Regions from separate parts of the Homo sapiens genome. Here region 2 is linked to region 1. Evidence: promoter capture Hi-C in 16 types of primary human blood cells and fetal thymus (Javierre and others, 2016). All regions are on one chromosome and are shown on one strand. The core of a region is centred on a gene start or on the middle of the fragment in contact, and the rest is flanking DNA. Distances in the headings are between cores, read along the strand shown.

Region 1 (7,456 bases), core at 1,645-4,144:
TTTCCATTTACCTGCTGGCCATTTGTCTGTTTCCTGAGAAATGTCTGCTTAGATCTCTTGCCCATTTTTAAACCAGGTTATTTGGGATTTTTTGCTATTGAGTTATTTAAGCTCCTTATATATTTTGGATATTAACCCCTTATCAGATCGTTTTTGATTTGTAAATATTTTCCTCAGCTCTGGAGGTCACCTTTTTACTCTGTTGTTTCTTTTGCTGTGCAGAGCTTTTTAGTTTGATGCAATCCCACCTGTCTATTTTTGCTTTCGTTTCCTGTGCTTTTGGTGTCATATCCAAAAAATCATTGCCCAAGCCAATGTCAAGTTTTCCCTATGTCTTCATCTAGTAGCTTTACAGTTTCTGGCCCTATAAGTCTTTAATCCATTTTGAATTGATTTTGTATATAGTGTGAGATAAAGGTCCAATTTCATTCTTTTGCATGTGGATATTCATTTTTAGGGATGACGAAAATGTTCTGGAGACGGATGACGGTAATGATTGACAACTTTGTGAATGTAGTTGATTTCACTGATTTGTGCACTTAAAAATGATTAAAATAGTCAATATTTAGTTATGCATATTTTACAACAATGAAAAATATTTAGGCCGGGTCCAGTGGCTCACACCTGTAATCCCAGCCCTTTGGGAGGCCAAGGCAGGCAGATCACTCGAGGTCAGGAGTTCTAGACCAACCTGGCCAACATGGCGAAACCCCATCTCTACTAAAAATACAAAAACTCAGCCGGGCTTGGTGGCATGCACCTGTAATCCCAGCTACTCAGGAGGCTGAGGCAAGATAATTGTTCGAATCCGGGAGTCAGAGGTTACAGTGAACTGAGATTGCGCCACTGCACTCCAGCCTCGGCAACAGAGTGAGACTCCATCTCAAAAAAAATTTTTTTCAGAAAAAAAAGAGAAACTTGCCCATGTTATGGAGCTAATGAGTGGTGGAAATGCGTTCTGAACCCAGGCAGTCTAGTTCTAGGATTCTGGCATATGTCACCAAAAGAGATTGGGATATGAAAGGCCTTTAGGGAAAAATACAAAGCATGAGAAAAAAAATGGAAATACTAAAAAATAATAGGCCATTTATGGAGCTTTGCTCCTTATCAGTTATCTTTCTTCAGGCAGCTAGAAATGGTGGGAAACACTCAGGATCGAAGCTCTAGGAAAACTGGTTCCAAGTCTGGAAACTATGAGACTGCAGCAAATTCCCCCTAGTCTCTCAAGCTTCCTCCTCCTTGGGGTTAATAGCCAATCTGCCAATCTTCAGGATGGTTGTGCAGGTCACAAGAGTTAATGGGTGTGTGTTTCAATGATCTATTACTGAAATGATCTATAATAAACCACCCCACTCTAAAGCTGGGCTTAGCTGGGCAGTTCTTTTGGTCCACATGGTGTTCATGAGGTTATTCATGTAGCTGCATTCAGCTAGTAGCTCAGTGGGGGTTGGAATGTCCAAGATGACTTCAGTTACATATTATAGTGCTTAGCTGTAGTTTCTAGAATGTCTTGAGGAGTTGGCTGGGCCTCCCTCTCTCTCCAGGTGCCTTTCCAGCAGAGTAGCTACACTTCTTTATAACCAAGAAGGTAGAATCAGACGTTTTCAATCCTCTTAAGGCCTAGGCTCAGTACTGGCAGAATCACTTGTAGCACATCCTATTGGTCAAAGCAACCAACATGACCAGCCAGATTCAACAGGAGGTAAAACAGAGTCTATCTCTTGAGGAGAGAAACCGTATGCTCATCATGCAAGGACGGACAGAACTACGTGGCAGCCATCTTTGCAGAAAATCCACCACAGTGGTGCCCATAGGTGGGGATCAGAGTTCAACTGTCCCTTGCCCCCTAGAATTAGATAAAAAGAGTCTAATGAACTGTTAGCATAATGCTAAGTGCTGCAGCACACAAAATGCTCGGCAAGTGCTGATGATTATTATTAATCATTATTATTCTTTTAATAGCTTTTTTAAAACAGTCTAAGATAGCACTGGTACTGTATTCAGTTTAAAGTGATATACATGGGTCAAATGAACTTTGAGTTCTTTCCCAACCTTAATACCATGATTCTTTGAGTCTCTTTTTCACAGATTTGGAAACTGAGGCTTAGGAAGATTGCGTGACTTGTCTGGAGTCACACACTAAGCTAGTGCATGACGTCCACATTCAGAGATATCTCCCTCCACTGAATATGCTGGTTTTCACTCGTTCATTTAAAAAATAATGTATTGGGCATCTACCACAAGCCCAAAGGAGTATACATAAACATATACTGACAATTATTTATTGAATACATCCTATGTAATACTGTGTCACTGAATCCTCATCACAAGCCTATGATGAACCAACCCCCTTCCCATTTCACAGATGGGAATGAGGAAGAGCAAGGTAAAAAACGAACAAACAAAAAAACAGGGTCCACCCTCATGGGGATTACAGTCTACTAAAGAGGATATAGGATAGTCAAACAAATACTTAAAATCAAACAAATACTTAAATATATAATTACAAATTATTCTTGGAGTCGTACTGCTCTTGGAGCCCCAGTGCCCACCCTTTCCCTCAAATCAAGGTCTCAGGTAACCCTGGCAATGGGTCTTCCTGCCAGTAGTAAAGATGGCGCTGAGAGCACGAGCGCACTTTCGCACACCCCCATTACCCACAATGCAGCGGGAATAAGGGAGGCTCAGTTTCTGCCAGGAGCTAATATGGCTTCCTTAGTTACACCGTTCTCTCTCTTCACCTAATCAGCGACCTTACTTTCCCAGACCAGACTGTCGAGCAGGAGCTAAGACTCCTTTTCCCCTCTGCTGACCGCCACTACAGGAGCGGTTGAAGCCAGACGACCACCTTGTGGAGTTAAACTCCGTAACCAGGGAGCACCACTTCCGCTGACGTCATTACGGCGACACGTGGATCCAAGATGGCGACGGCGATGGTGAGTGAAGGAGACTCCGGGAGCGGGAGCTGGAGCGGGGCCCTCCGGGGTATCCCAGGATCTTCCAGCACCCCATGCCTGGCCCTGAGCCACCTCCGGGACCCCTGACTCAGGCCTGAGGGCTACCTCTGACTGGGCTTGTCTTCCCCGAAATCCACCTCCCTGGCCCTGCCCCTGCACTCAGGCTTGTGAAGGCCCCGAGTTTTGGGGGAGGCGCCGTTTCGGAGGAAGACCTCGGCTGCTGCCTTCGCCGGTTCCCATTCTACTTTTGGTCTCCGCCCACTGTGAGCCCCATTTTCCATTTCTCACCTCCCTGTCCTGACCCCTCTGAAGACCCCCTCCCGTTATTCTCATCCTTGCTCCTCCCCGTCACGTCCAGACCCTGCTCTCCCCGCCTCCCCACCATCATAACCAGTCCGCAGATGTGACCTCTCCTCTGACCACCCTCCCAGCCCAAGCGCTGCCTCAGATCCTTTTCAGAGCCCTGTCCTCACTTACACTCATAGCTGTCCCCATCGCGCACCCCCTTGACTGCCGCTACCCCAGAGCTTGCCTTCACCTACCCCACCCCCATCTTTCATCCCTAGAGGCTTCCCTGCCCTTCCTGTCTTCTCTCAGTCAACTCCCTGCCCCTCTCTTAGGGACCTTTTACCCTGTTGGTTCTCAAACTTTACTGTGCATAAGAATCTCGAGGTGTGTAGGGGGAGGCATGCTAAAAATGCAGTTTCCTGAGCAGCCCCACTCCCAGAGATTCTAATTCCATAGGGCTAGGTGATGCCCAGGAATCTGCCCTTTTATAAGCACTCTAGTGATTATATAGTGGAGGTGGTCTGTGAACTACGTTTTGAAAAACACTAATAGCCCCACCTCACTGCTCTCCTTCCCATTCCCCAACATGGCCACACAGCTCGTTAGGGATGAAGGCTCTTTATTATGAAGCTATATGTTGGGATGAAGTCTGTGTGTGGATGAGGGTGGAGGTAAAATAGCCATGCTTGGAAGTTGGGTCAGAGCTTGCGGGCTCCTGGTGCAGAACCTTGGAAGTAAATCTTTGAAGGACTGGCCCTTTTTCTAAAAGTTTAGTTCAAATTCTGCTTGTCAAGAGACCAGAACTAAAATTGAAGTCACTTAGTCCAGAATGATTTCCTGGGTCTTCCTGCATACTGCCTCCTCAGCAGATAATTTCGTCCGGGGAGTGAATGACAAGGAAGACTCAGAGAAAAGGAAATGACATTTGACTTTAGCAAAGGAAGATTCTGGCTTAAATAATTTGGTGTTGGTTTTCTCCAAACAGGGATATATTATTGACTGGTAGCAATTTTCCCTCCTTCTCTTAGCTGACTGAGAACTTACCTTTGTTTAATGAGGGATTCCTTATTTAGAACTTCAGAGGTCAGGTAAAAAGATTTCATGGCCTTACCTGGTTTCTGTGGTTTCAGACTTCAGGCTGAACCACGAGTGGGGCAAATCCTCAAAGTAGTATGTTGAAACCTACATATATGTATATATATTCTGGTACCACATTCAGAACAGAGATAGTGTAAGAACTTAAAAGGAAATCACACCCTCTCTTGCTATAAGGAAAACATTGAGTAAAGTGGTATTTACGGCACTGCACTGGGAAATCCCTGCCTTGTTCAGAGATTTTTAAGAGGTTATAAGCTAGCAATACATATATGTGGTACACATCTATTTAGTCAACAAATATTTGAGTACCAATTCTGTTCCAGGAACTAGGGATGTAGTTGTGAATTACAGGGTCAAGGTCCCTACACTTGTGGAGCCTTTCTGGTTTGAGGAGACAGGCAGTGAACAAGTAAATACGTGAACAAAATAATGTCACCAGTAGATGCTGTGAGGACAGCAAAATGAAGTGATAGTGATTAGGGGTGACTGGGTGACACAACTACTTTGGATTGAGTGGTCAGAAAGAAGTCTTCTCAGAGGAGGTGACTTGAGTTAAAACATAATTAACAAGAAGGAACCAGCCATGCAAAGAATGTTCCAAGCAAAGGAAATGGCAAGTGTAAGGGGCCGATGTGGAAGGGAGCTTGGTGTTTTTGAGGAACACACAGAAGGCTGGAGGGGCCGAAGCATGATGAGGGTTGGGGTAGGAGAGAATGATACAAGATGAAACTGGAGGGAAGCAAGAGCAACTGTTTTGAGAAGCATGCCTGGAAATGGGAAGGACTGCGGTCTACATTTTGTTGTCTGTGGATTGCATTTTGAAATAGTGTTGTATTAGGCTGCTTCCCCTTCCCATCCCCTTCAGGACAGTACTTGAAGGGAGCCAGCTTGTTCTCAGTTGGCACAGAGGCTGTGGAAAGGAGTTTGGATTTTAGTCTAAGCACAGTGGAAGGGACAGTGATTTTTGCCCAGCACAGTGACTCACACCTGTAATCCCAGCACTCTGGGAGACCAAAGCTGGGAGATCGCTTGAGCTCAGGAGTTTGAGACCAGCTTGGACAACATGGCAAACCCCTCTACAAAAAAAATACAAAAAGAAAAAATTAGCTGGGCTTGGTGGTGTGCACCTGTAGTACCAGCTACTTGCGGGGCTGAGGTGGGAGGATCACTTGAACCTCAGTGAGCCCTGATCACTGCACTGCACTCCAGCTTTGGCAACAGAGCGAGACCCTGTCTTAAGAAACAACAACAGGCCGGGAGCAGTGGCTCATGCCTGTAATCTCAGAATTTTGGGAGGCTGAAGCAGGCAAATCACTTGAGGCCAGGAGTTCAACACCAGCCTGGCCAACATGGCGAAACCCTGTCTTCTAAAAATACAAAAATTAGCAGGGTGTGGTGGCACACACCTGTAATCCCAGCTACTCGGGAGGCTGAGGCACAAGAATCGCTTGAACCCGGGAGGCGGAGGCTACAGTGAGCCAAGATCGTGTCACTGCACTGCAGCCTGGGTGACAGAGTGAGACCCTATCTCAAAAAAAAAAAAAAAACAAAAAACAAAACACACCACCACCAACAAAACCCTGCAAGTACGGTGATTTAGTGTTTGTTGTGCCACCTGGGAGTGTTGTACTGAAAACAGTAACTGATTTAAAGAAACTGAGTATGTAACATATGCAGTGACCCACAGAGGCCAGTTTAAAGGGTGCATATGGAGAAACTTCATATCTGGTGCAATAGTGAAAAGGTGTGGAAGCAAATTTATTACAGGGGTATGTGATGAAGGGGCAAAGTGGAGTCACAGGCTTGAGTTTGGTCTGTGTCAGCACTTCATTACACGGAAGTCAGAATAGTCCCCACACCCTCATACACACCCTCATTTCATAACCATTGGGGCGAGGGGGTGCGGTAGACCTACTTTGGAGTGTATGGGTCTCTGAGGTGAGTCATACAGCCAAAGAGGAACTGAACTAGTGGATCCAGTGGCCGTGGGAATAGCTGGGTTGCTGGTTTGTCCTTTGTTTTGAAAGTTAGGGTTGTGGGTGCAAGTGCGGTGGCATGTGAGCTTTTCCCTTTCTCTCTTTCCTTGGTGAATGGCTCTTCTTCCCCAAGGGTTGAGCCGCCAGCTCCCAGAACAATGTCAGTATGGAGGGTGTTTCCTGAACCCGCAGGGCAAGACTTCTCCCTCCATAGAAGATAGCTGGTGTAAACTGAAGTTCTCTTTGATTTTCCTGTCTTCTTCCATCCTTAGATTTAGACTACTCTGTAAAGTTACAGGATACAGTGTTGATCTAGCTAGGTCTGAATTGAGATGCGGGCTCATGTCTCACTCTTTATGGAAAACGGTTCTTGGGAATATTATTTCATTGAAACTTGGGAAATGTCCATTGAGTACATTTCTAGATGTGTCAGGAGTCTAGAAACTTCAGTTTGGAGAATAAAACTCTACTTCCCTCACATCATTGTTCATACTGTTTTGGTTTTTATTATAATCTTCTTTATGGATATAATTCATATGCCATAAAATTCACCCCTTTAAAGTATATAATTTAGTGGGTTTTAGTGTTTTTATAGGTTGTGCATACACTAAATGTGATGGTTATCACCATTGTGTAATTCGGAACATTTCATCACCCCAAAAAGAGAGTCACTCCCTACTCTTCCCTCCCCACAGCCCTAGGCAACTACTAATTTACCTTCTGTCCCTATAGATTTGCCTATTCTGGACATTTTATACAAAGATAATTATATAATATGTGATCTTTTGTGTCTGGCTTCTTAGCATAATGTTTTCAAAGTTTGTTTATGTTGTATCATGTATCAGTAGTGCCGCATCCCTTTTTATGGCTGAATCTTCCCTTGTATGGATGTACCACAGCTTGTTTATCACTCATCAGTTGATGGATATTGGGATTGTTTTCACTTTTTGGTTGTTAGGTATAATGCTGCTGTGAACATTCAGGTGTAAGTTCTTGTGTGAACATACATTCAGTTTCCATGGGTGTATGGAAGTGTATTCCTGCATCAGTTCACACTGTTTTGAGGTTACTTGGGTTTGAGCCACTCCAGAAACAGGAATGGAATAAATGACATCAAGATTCCTTTGTGCTAATGGA
Region 2 (7,456 bases), core at 3,072-5,571, 380 kb after region 1:
GTCCCAAGGCTGTTGCTTCATGGCTACACCCCAAGCCCACCTAGCCACCAGGGAAGGAGGCCAGCCTTCCAGCACTCCCTGCACAATTCCACTCCTTCCTGCAAACATGCCTCCTCTGCTTACTAGCCATGCAAGCACCAGCTCTTCTGGGAAATATGAGGCAGGAAGGGCTGAGACACAGCCAATCACCTACCACACTGGAGGCATTCTCGCTCTCTCTCCCTCACACTCACTCACACGCACACTGTGTCTGTCAGAAGCGTATTCCCATCTACATGTGGTCCTCTGTTGTCCCTGCTGTCATAGACACCTGGATGCTGGAAGTGAGCATTTCCCACACCTTCCCACTGTATATCAAGTGGAAAACAGGCTTTTGTTCCTAAGCAAAGGCACCTGGCTGCTCCCCATCAGCATTCCTCACCACGAGGGCCTCGCTGGTACCCTCAGACCCTGCCATTAATGGGGGTTTCTTTAAAAGTGAAGCTGGAGAGAGGAGCTTCAGCAGACAGGGATCTTCCAGCCAAAAGGAAGGCTGGAAGGGAGCCGCTGTGAGCTAATCCCCTGCAGGGCTGTCCTTCCAAGAAAGGAACCCAGACAACACAGAAAAAGTTCTTGAGCAATTCCCAGGCGGTCCAGCTCCACAGAGCCCCAGGGTAGGGGCCGCAGGAAAAGTTCCCCAAAGGCGTCTTCTCAGCTGGGAGGAAGGCCGTCTTCTCAGCTGGGAGGAAGGCCGCAGTGAGCTCTGTTCCCACTGTGCGGCAGGAAGGTGCTGAATAGGGTGGTGTCGCCCAGCTCAAGAGGTGCTGTCTTAAAACCCTGCTCTATAAAGCAAGCCCAGCCTGAGCCTGGATTAGACAGGAGCTTGATATTATTCAAGGACACATTTAGGCCCTAATGGCTTTCCAATGAAGGGGTAATTTACTACCCGGGGGGCTAAACTACCACAGGGCCTGGGCCATAAACGGGCCTTTTCCCCAGACCAACTCAGTCCAGAATCCGGCCTGTGTCAGGGGTCAAGACAGGGGCCTGGTCCCATCACACAGATGGCTCTCCCCAGAAGAGCCATGAGGTCCCCCAAACACCTCTCCCCACACCCCCTTTGGTGTGTGTGAGTTGGTGGGGCGGGGCGGGGGGGGGGGAGCAGGCTGGGGTTGCCAGCTGATTCTGGGATAAGTAGGGCTTTATCTCAAGGGAGAATCTATTTCAAGCCACAATCCTTCTCAGAAAGAGGAGGAAATCACAGAGTCCAAACACCATTTCAGGTGAAATCAGGAGGTTATTCATCTCCCCTCAGAGCAGACAGAAAGGAAAATCAATGTTTTAGAGGGGGAAAAAAGGTTCCATTTGAATTAATGGGTTTGTGGCTTCTCCATTGATCTGAGCCTCTTCACACTTTCTTTTTGTGCTTTTGTGCTCTTGGGGAGAGGGGAGGGAGTAGGGAATGGGGAGGAGGGGGTGGGCCTCCCATAAGGAAAAGGACGGTCTAACCTTAACCTTTCTACAGGAATAATGCTAATTAGCGAGGCTTAATGAGAACTTCCCCCAGGAAGCGCAGCCCGGTAGGGGCGGCCGGACTCGGGCAAACGCAGCTCCGGGTGGGAGCAGGGTCACTTCTGCTCCCGAGCGGCTGGAATAAAAATGCGGATTGCACTCCCCCCTCCTCCCTATCCAAAGTGTCCAGCCTTGAAGACAAGGTGGAGGGAGGAGAGAGAGGGCGGAGGTGTAAATCCAACTTAACCCCTGCGCGCGCCCTCGAGGCGGCCGGCTGCCCCCGCCCCGCCGTGTCCCCTCATTAAGGAAGGCCCCTTCGCCAGGGGCCGCCAACGCCCGCGGCTTCCGGTCAGACGGTGCACCTGAGAGGGACACCCCGTCCCCTCCCGGGAGGGACCCGGGCCTGCTGAAGTGGGCTCAACTCTGCAAACCGCGTCTCAACTCCCCGCGCCGCGCCGGGGAACCCCTCCCTGACACTCAACGCTTCCCGTCCTCACATCCCCAAACACAGTCCACTTCCCTTCTCGTGGCGGCCGCGGCAACCCGAGCCCGGCCCCCGCCCCGCCGCCAGAGAACGCCTCCCTCGCCGGGACGCGGTGCCGAGCCCGCTGCACACCGAGCGGCCGTGGCACAATACCGCGGCGCTGCGCGCACAATCACCGCCCCCCAGGACCCGCGGCGCGCACCCCGGGAGTGGGGTGCGCCCCGCGACCCTGGGCGCTCAGGGCCAGACACACCTCTTGGGCGCCCCGCGGCCCCCACAGTGCAGCCTTCATCGCCCCCCCTCCACTCTCGGGCACACTCACCCGCCCCCCGCCCCAGCCCACTCGGCCCAGGGCGCAGCCGCTCCCCCGCGCCCCCTCCCTCAGCCCCGGCAAAGGAAGCTCCCCCTGCGCCCCCCTCCCCAGAACCGCCCCCAGCCCCTCGCCCCCCTAACCGCAGCTCAACGGCCGGCGGCAGCAGCCGGAGAAGGGGGGCGGCGGCCCGGGCCCCGGAAACGGCCCGATCGCCGGGATCCGGGCCGGACTCCGTACCTGGGCTGGAAGCGAGGCGGAGATGGGCGGTCGGGATCCGCGAGTGAGCGGGGCGGGCGGCGGTGACAGCCCCACAGCTCCAGCTGCTGCTGCTGCTGCTGCCGCCGCGGCTGCCCGGGGAGAGGGGCTGGCACCACCGCGGCGCGTCACTGCCCGGCCCGGGGGCGGGGGTGGCCAGGAGGAGGGCCCAGGCGAGCAGCGGCGGCAGCGGCGGCGGCGCCGCGGCCCGGAGGAAGGGGGAGGGGGCACCGGGCACGGGGAGGCGGGAGAGGGGGCGGGACCGGGCACGGGGCGGGGGCGGGGGGGAGGGGAGCGCAGGGAGGGCGCAGGCAGGGGGAGTAGGAGGAGCAGCAGGAGGAGGTGGCGGAGGGGCGGGTGAGAGGGAGGAGTGGGCACGGGGGGAAGGGGAGAGAGGAAAAGGAGGCACCCAGGGAGAGGGGAGAGGAGAAAGGAGGGAGAGAGGCGCGGGGGGAGAAGAGGAGGAAGGAGGGGGAGCTGGGCCAGGTAGGGGGGGATAAGGGCGCGCTGGACGCGCCGCCGTGCGCTTCGGTGGGGAGCGCGCTCTTAAGGGGGAAGCGCTTCGAGGAAGATCCTTGCACGGGGCTGAGCCCGGAAAGAAGGCGCTGGGATCTGTGCCTACCCATCGCTCCCGGAGGCTGCGGTCTCTGGGTCCGGTGGGGGCTGGGGGGAGAGGGCACCCGGCGGGCTGTCTGCGGTCAGGCCAGGAGAGGGAGACTTGGCCCAAATAAAGTGACTCAGGCACCCTCAGGAACTCTCGGCGCCCGGGGCCCCTTCGGGCAGCCTTCGACCCCCATGCGTCTTTCGGGTCCCCAGGGACGCGGGTACTTGTGGGGCGGGGCTGCCGGGCCTCGGGGTTCGGCTCCCCCGGGCGGCCGGAGCGAGACCCCGGGCTGGGAAAGCCAGGCACGTGGCCGGCTCTCGGCCGTACCCCCGCCCCACCCCCACGGCAGGGCCCCCAGTGCTTGATCAAGTTCAAGCTCGAGCTCCTCGGCGCGCTGCCCACCGGCTGCCCCTCCGCGCCCCTCCCCCTTCCCCATCCGCACCGTCTCGCTCTTCACTCTTCCTTTGTCTCTTTCCCACCACTTAGTTTACACCCCCTCCGCCCTCCTCCCCGCCCCCCGCGGGCACCCGAGTGTCCGGGAGGCGCTCACCTGTTCGACCCAAACATCTACGCGACCCCCAGCGCCCGCCGCCCGCGTGCCCGCCCCCGCCCCGCCGCCGGTCATTGTGCTCCGCCAGCCCACACCGGGCCGGGTCCTGACGGCGCGCGAGCCACAGTTGTAAAGTAATAGGATAATCTCGGGGACGTCGCTCCAGCCCAGACCCGGGCACGCACTGTCCGTGGAGACGGCACCGCCGGGGAGGGGAGCCACGCGGATTCCAGATGCGGTCCCCCAGGCGGACAGACCCTTGCCCGGGGCGCAGGAGGAGGCAGGACTGGCATCGCGGGGTGGGAGCCCTGGACCTCCGAGCAACCTCGGACTCGGCCCGAAAAGCAACACTCTCATCACCAAACCGCAGAATTAGACCCCGATGGAGAAAATGGGTCAGGGGATCCATTCCCACCCCACCCCTCCAAATCCAGACCCTCCGCTACCACAGATCAGCCTCGAAAAAAGCTTGTGCTTCAACAAGGATGGGGAACTGCCCTCGTGGAATTCTGTGGGGAAATTGCCAAAAAAAAAAAAAAAAAAAAAAAAAAAAACAACTAAAAAAAAACCCTGATAAGGATCCCACCTCCTGATTCCTCTGGTCGCATCCGAAGAGGAAGGGCAATTTCTACTGACTCTTTACGCTACCATTCATTCACGGTGGAACCAGCAGAGAAGAGAAAACGAGACAGCCACAGCGATTGTTTGCAATTTTGAAACAGACTGCCTTTAACCCTCCAACTTTTTTTCTGTAAAAAGCCTTTTTTCTTTCTTCCTCTGAAAGCTTTGCATTGTGAACAATCCATGGTAAACAAGGCTCCCTCTACAGCCGCGAGTGCGAAGTACAACCCCACAGGTTCAGAGCCCAGCGTTTACCCGTCAGAAAAATAAAATGATGACAAGACATCACATTAGCGCCACGCAGGCTTCCTTCCGCACATGCTCAAGACTCTGCTGTCAATAGAAAACTCACACTTTCTTTTTAAAAGAGGGTTTAGGCACATTTACTCATTTGCACCTTTTATTCCTGAAATCAAATGTGTTTTCAAACCAATTCACTCTCCCCAGTTTACTGGATCTTCTCATCCTTGGTGATGTGGGGCAGGTGGGAGGCTTTATTTATCCACACATGCTGGTGCCCAATAATGATTTTTAGAACGAACTAGTGGCCACAGCTCTTAAGTTCATCCAGGAAATGTGTTTCCAAACGCGGGAACTGTCCATCCTCACTCTGAAAATGAGATAATTCAGACTCAGGATTTCCCTTTCCCCACCACATTTTCAGAGACCTTTGACTTCTCCTGGCCTGAATTACTATTTCACAGCAGTGGTGGACATCTGAGCTTGAAATATAAAGCCAAATACAACTGAAGTTCAAAGGTGGAATTGAACCCAGATAACCCACCTCTTCTCTGACTAATAAAAGAGAGCTAGTACCGCCCAGGAGGGCAGAGCAGTGATTTTCTGTAGGCATGAAACGTGAACTCATTTACTATCCCTGAGATAAAACAGCCCAGCCCTGCTCAACCCACAGAAAACAGTTGAGAGCCCTGCAGAAACCTGGCTGTTGAGCGGCACTGCAAATGAGGTGAGTTTTCATGTGTGTGTGCTGAAGCCCTCAGAAATCTCCCAGATCCTTATTCCTACAGGAGCTGCCACTCCTGGAGTAACCTTGTATAGGTTGTTTTCAGTGTCCTTGTGCCACTCCCCCACTCCTTAAAGTGGCCACAGCATGAGTCCCAATGAGGAATCGGGTGACCTAGTTTCTTGACCACTAATTCTCCCAGTGATGTGTCCCTTCTTCTGGCCCCAGCCTGGTAGGAGACCATGGCAGAGAAAGCTGATCCCATCTGCTTCGGGGGGACAATGCTGCCACAGGTCCCCTCCAGCCTCTGAAGACATTGGGTGCTTTTGTAAACAGATGATTAGGGTATGCTCTGATGGGGCTTTTTAAGCAGCAAACCCCTTTCTTTCATGCAGCTTCCCATATGAAGTAAGCATGTCCCACAAGTGGGGACCTGGCCATGGGACTCTGGTTTGCCATTATTAGGACAAATAGGATCTTAGCGTGACCAGAGCAGACACTGTTCAAGCACGTCAAAACATTAAAAAAAAAAATTATCCCCACAAATGACTTATTAATGACAGAGAAGAAAATGTACCTGCAATGGGGCGATCTGGCAGACACTTCCCAATCAAGTCATCAAATTCAGCAGCCTCCAAAGTGGGGCCACCAGACATGATGTCCTCGGCTCCTGAAGGGAGGCACTGGAAGACACAGCATCACTTGAGCCATGTGCTCCCCCAACATGCTTCACCTGAATCTGCTCCTCAAGAGACAACCAGACAAGAAATCCAGAAAGAGAAACTCCACAACACAACAGTCTTGGACTCTACAAAACATTCATTGTCACTAATTGACTTTCTAAACGATAAGATGAAAGAGAAATAACAGCCGGGTGCAGTGGCTCACACCTGTAATCCCAGCACTTTGGGAGGCCGAGGCGGGTGGATCACCTGAGGTCAGGGGTTCGAGACCAGCCTGGCCAACATGGTGAAACCCAGTCTCTACTAAAAACACAAAATTGGACGGGCGTGGTGGCACACACCTGTAATCCCAGCTACTCGGGAGGCTGGGGTAGGAGAATTGCTTGAACCCAGGAAGCAGAGGTTGCAGTGAGCCGAGATCATACCGTTGCACTCCAGCCTGGGCGACAGGAGCGAAACTCCATCTCAAAAAAAATTAAAGAGAGAGAAATAACAACTAAACTTAATGTGTGACTCTTCTTAGATCCTGTAGAGATGGAATGAGGTGTGGACAAGGGGTGGGGGAGAGGCAGAGGATGGGGGTGGAATGAGGGTGGGGGCCAGGGTGGGCTCTGGGCTGAGTGGTCAGGGAAGAGCTCTCCCAGGAGGAAGCCACTGGGTGTCCTAATCCCCAGAGGGCAGAAGTTGACAGCTGGGTGAAGACCTGGGGGCACTGTCTTCCAGGCAGAGGGAATAGTTGGTGCAAAACTGCTGATGAAAGGAAAGGTGACCAGAGTGCTAGAGCAATGTGGGCCAGGGGGAGGGCAGGAGGGATGAGCATCGGGGGGGCAAACAGGGCCAAGCATGCAACATCCTGAACATCCCCCGTGAGGTGTGTGGGCTTTACACTGGGAGTGAGGAGAGGATGCAATCTGAGTTACGTTTTTAGATCAGGGGAGATGAGATTATAAAGGAGCAGAAGTGATGACAGGGAGGCCAGTGAGGAGGTCTAATGGAAAGAGTATCATCAGATGGAACTAGTTCAAATTCTGGCTCTGACACTAGATGGATGACTTTGGGCACCATACCTAAACCTCTCTAAGCAACAGTTTATTCATCTACATGTGATCCACAGTTTTTGTTTGTTGGTTTTATTTTTTTTTTTTTTTGACCAAATCTTGCTGTGTCACCTAGGCTGGAGTGCAGTGGCACGATCTGGGCTCACTGCATCCTCCACCTCCCTGACTCAAGCCATTCTTGTGTCTCAGCCTCCCAAGTAGCTGGGATTACAGGTGTGTGCCACCATGCCTGGCTAATTTTTGTATTTTTAGTAGAGATGGAGTTTTACCATGTTGTCCAGGCTGGTCTCAAGCTCCTGGACTCAAGTGATCCACCCGCCTTGGCCTTCCAAAGACCCACTATGTTTAACGTGTGTTTAACGTAGCATTTGGCACCAAATTTTCCTCTTTGAGATTACAAACTGTGGTAGACAGTCTCCAAGATGGCCCATGA

Evidence for each region. Contacts are between HindIII fragments. The CHiCAGO score rates a contact against its expected background, and 5 or more counts as called.
Region 2: a fragment that was not itself captured here is called in contact with the fragment with the promoter of TM9SF4 in region 1 in 1 of 17 cell types (M1 macrophages); the score reaches 6.0 in M1 macrophages.

The regions. Positions count from the first base shown.
Region 1 is chr20:32,106,820-32,114,275 of GRCh38, forward strand. TM9SF4 (transmembrane 9 superfamily member 4) reads left to right here and starts at 2,895. Exons shown (of 18, transcript NM_014742.4): 1 at 2,895-2,936. The coding sequence starts at 2,922. RefSeq lists enhancers at 2,212-3,411, 2,414-3,158, 2,816-2,995, 3,159-3,901. The HindIII fragment of the contact is 7,759 bases long and covers 1,227-7,456 here.
Region 2 is chr20:32,480,837-32,488,292 of GRCh38, forward strand. All of the region lies in intron 4 of NOL4L (nucleolar protein 4 like), which reads right to left. It overlaps LOC124904886 (a long non-coding RNA gene), which reads left to right and starts at 5,194. Exons shown (of 2, transcript XR_007067564.1): 1 at 5,194-5,285; 2 at 5,678-6,466. RefSeq lists silencers at 2,059-2,168, 2,529-2,688. The HindIII fragment of the contact is 316 bases long and covers 4,164-4,479 here.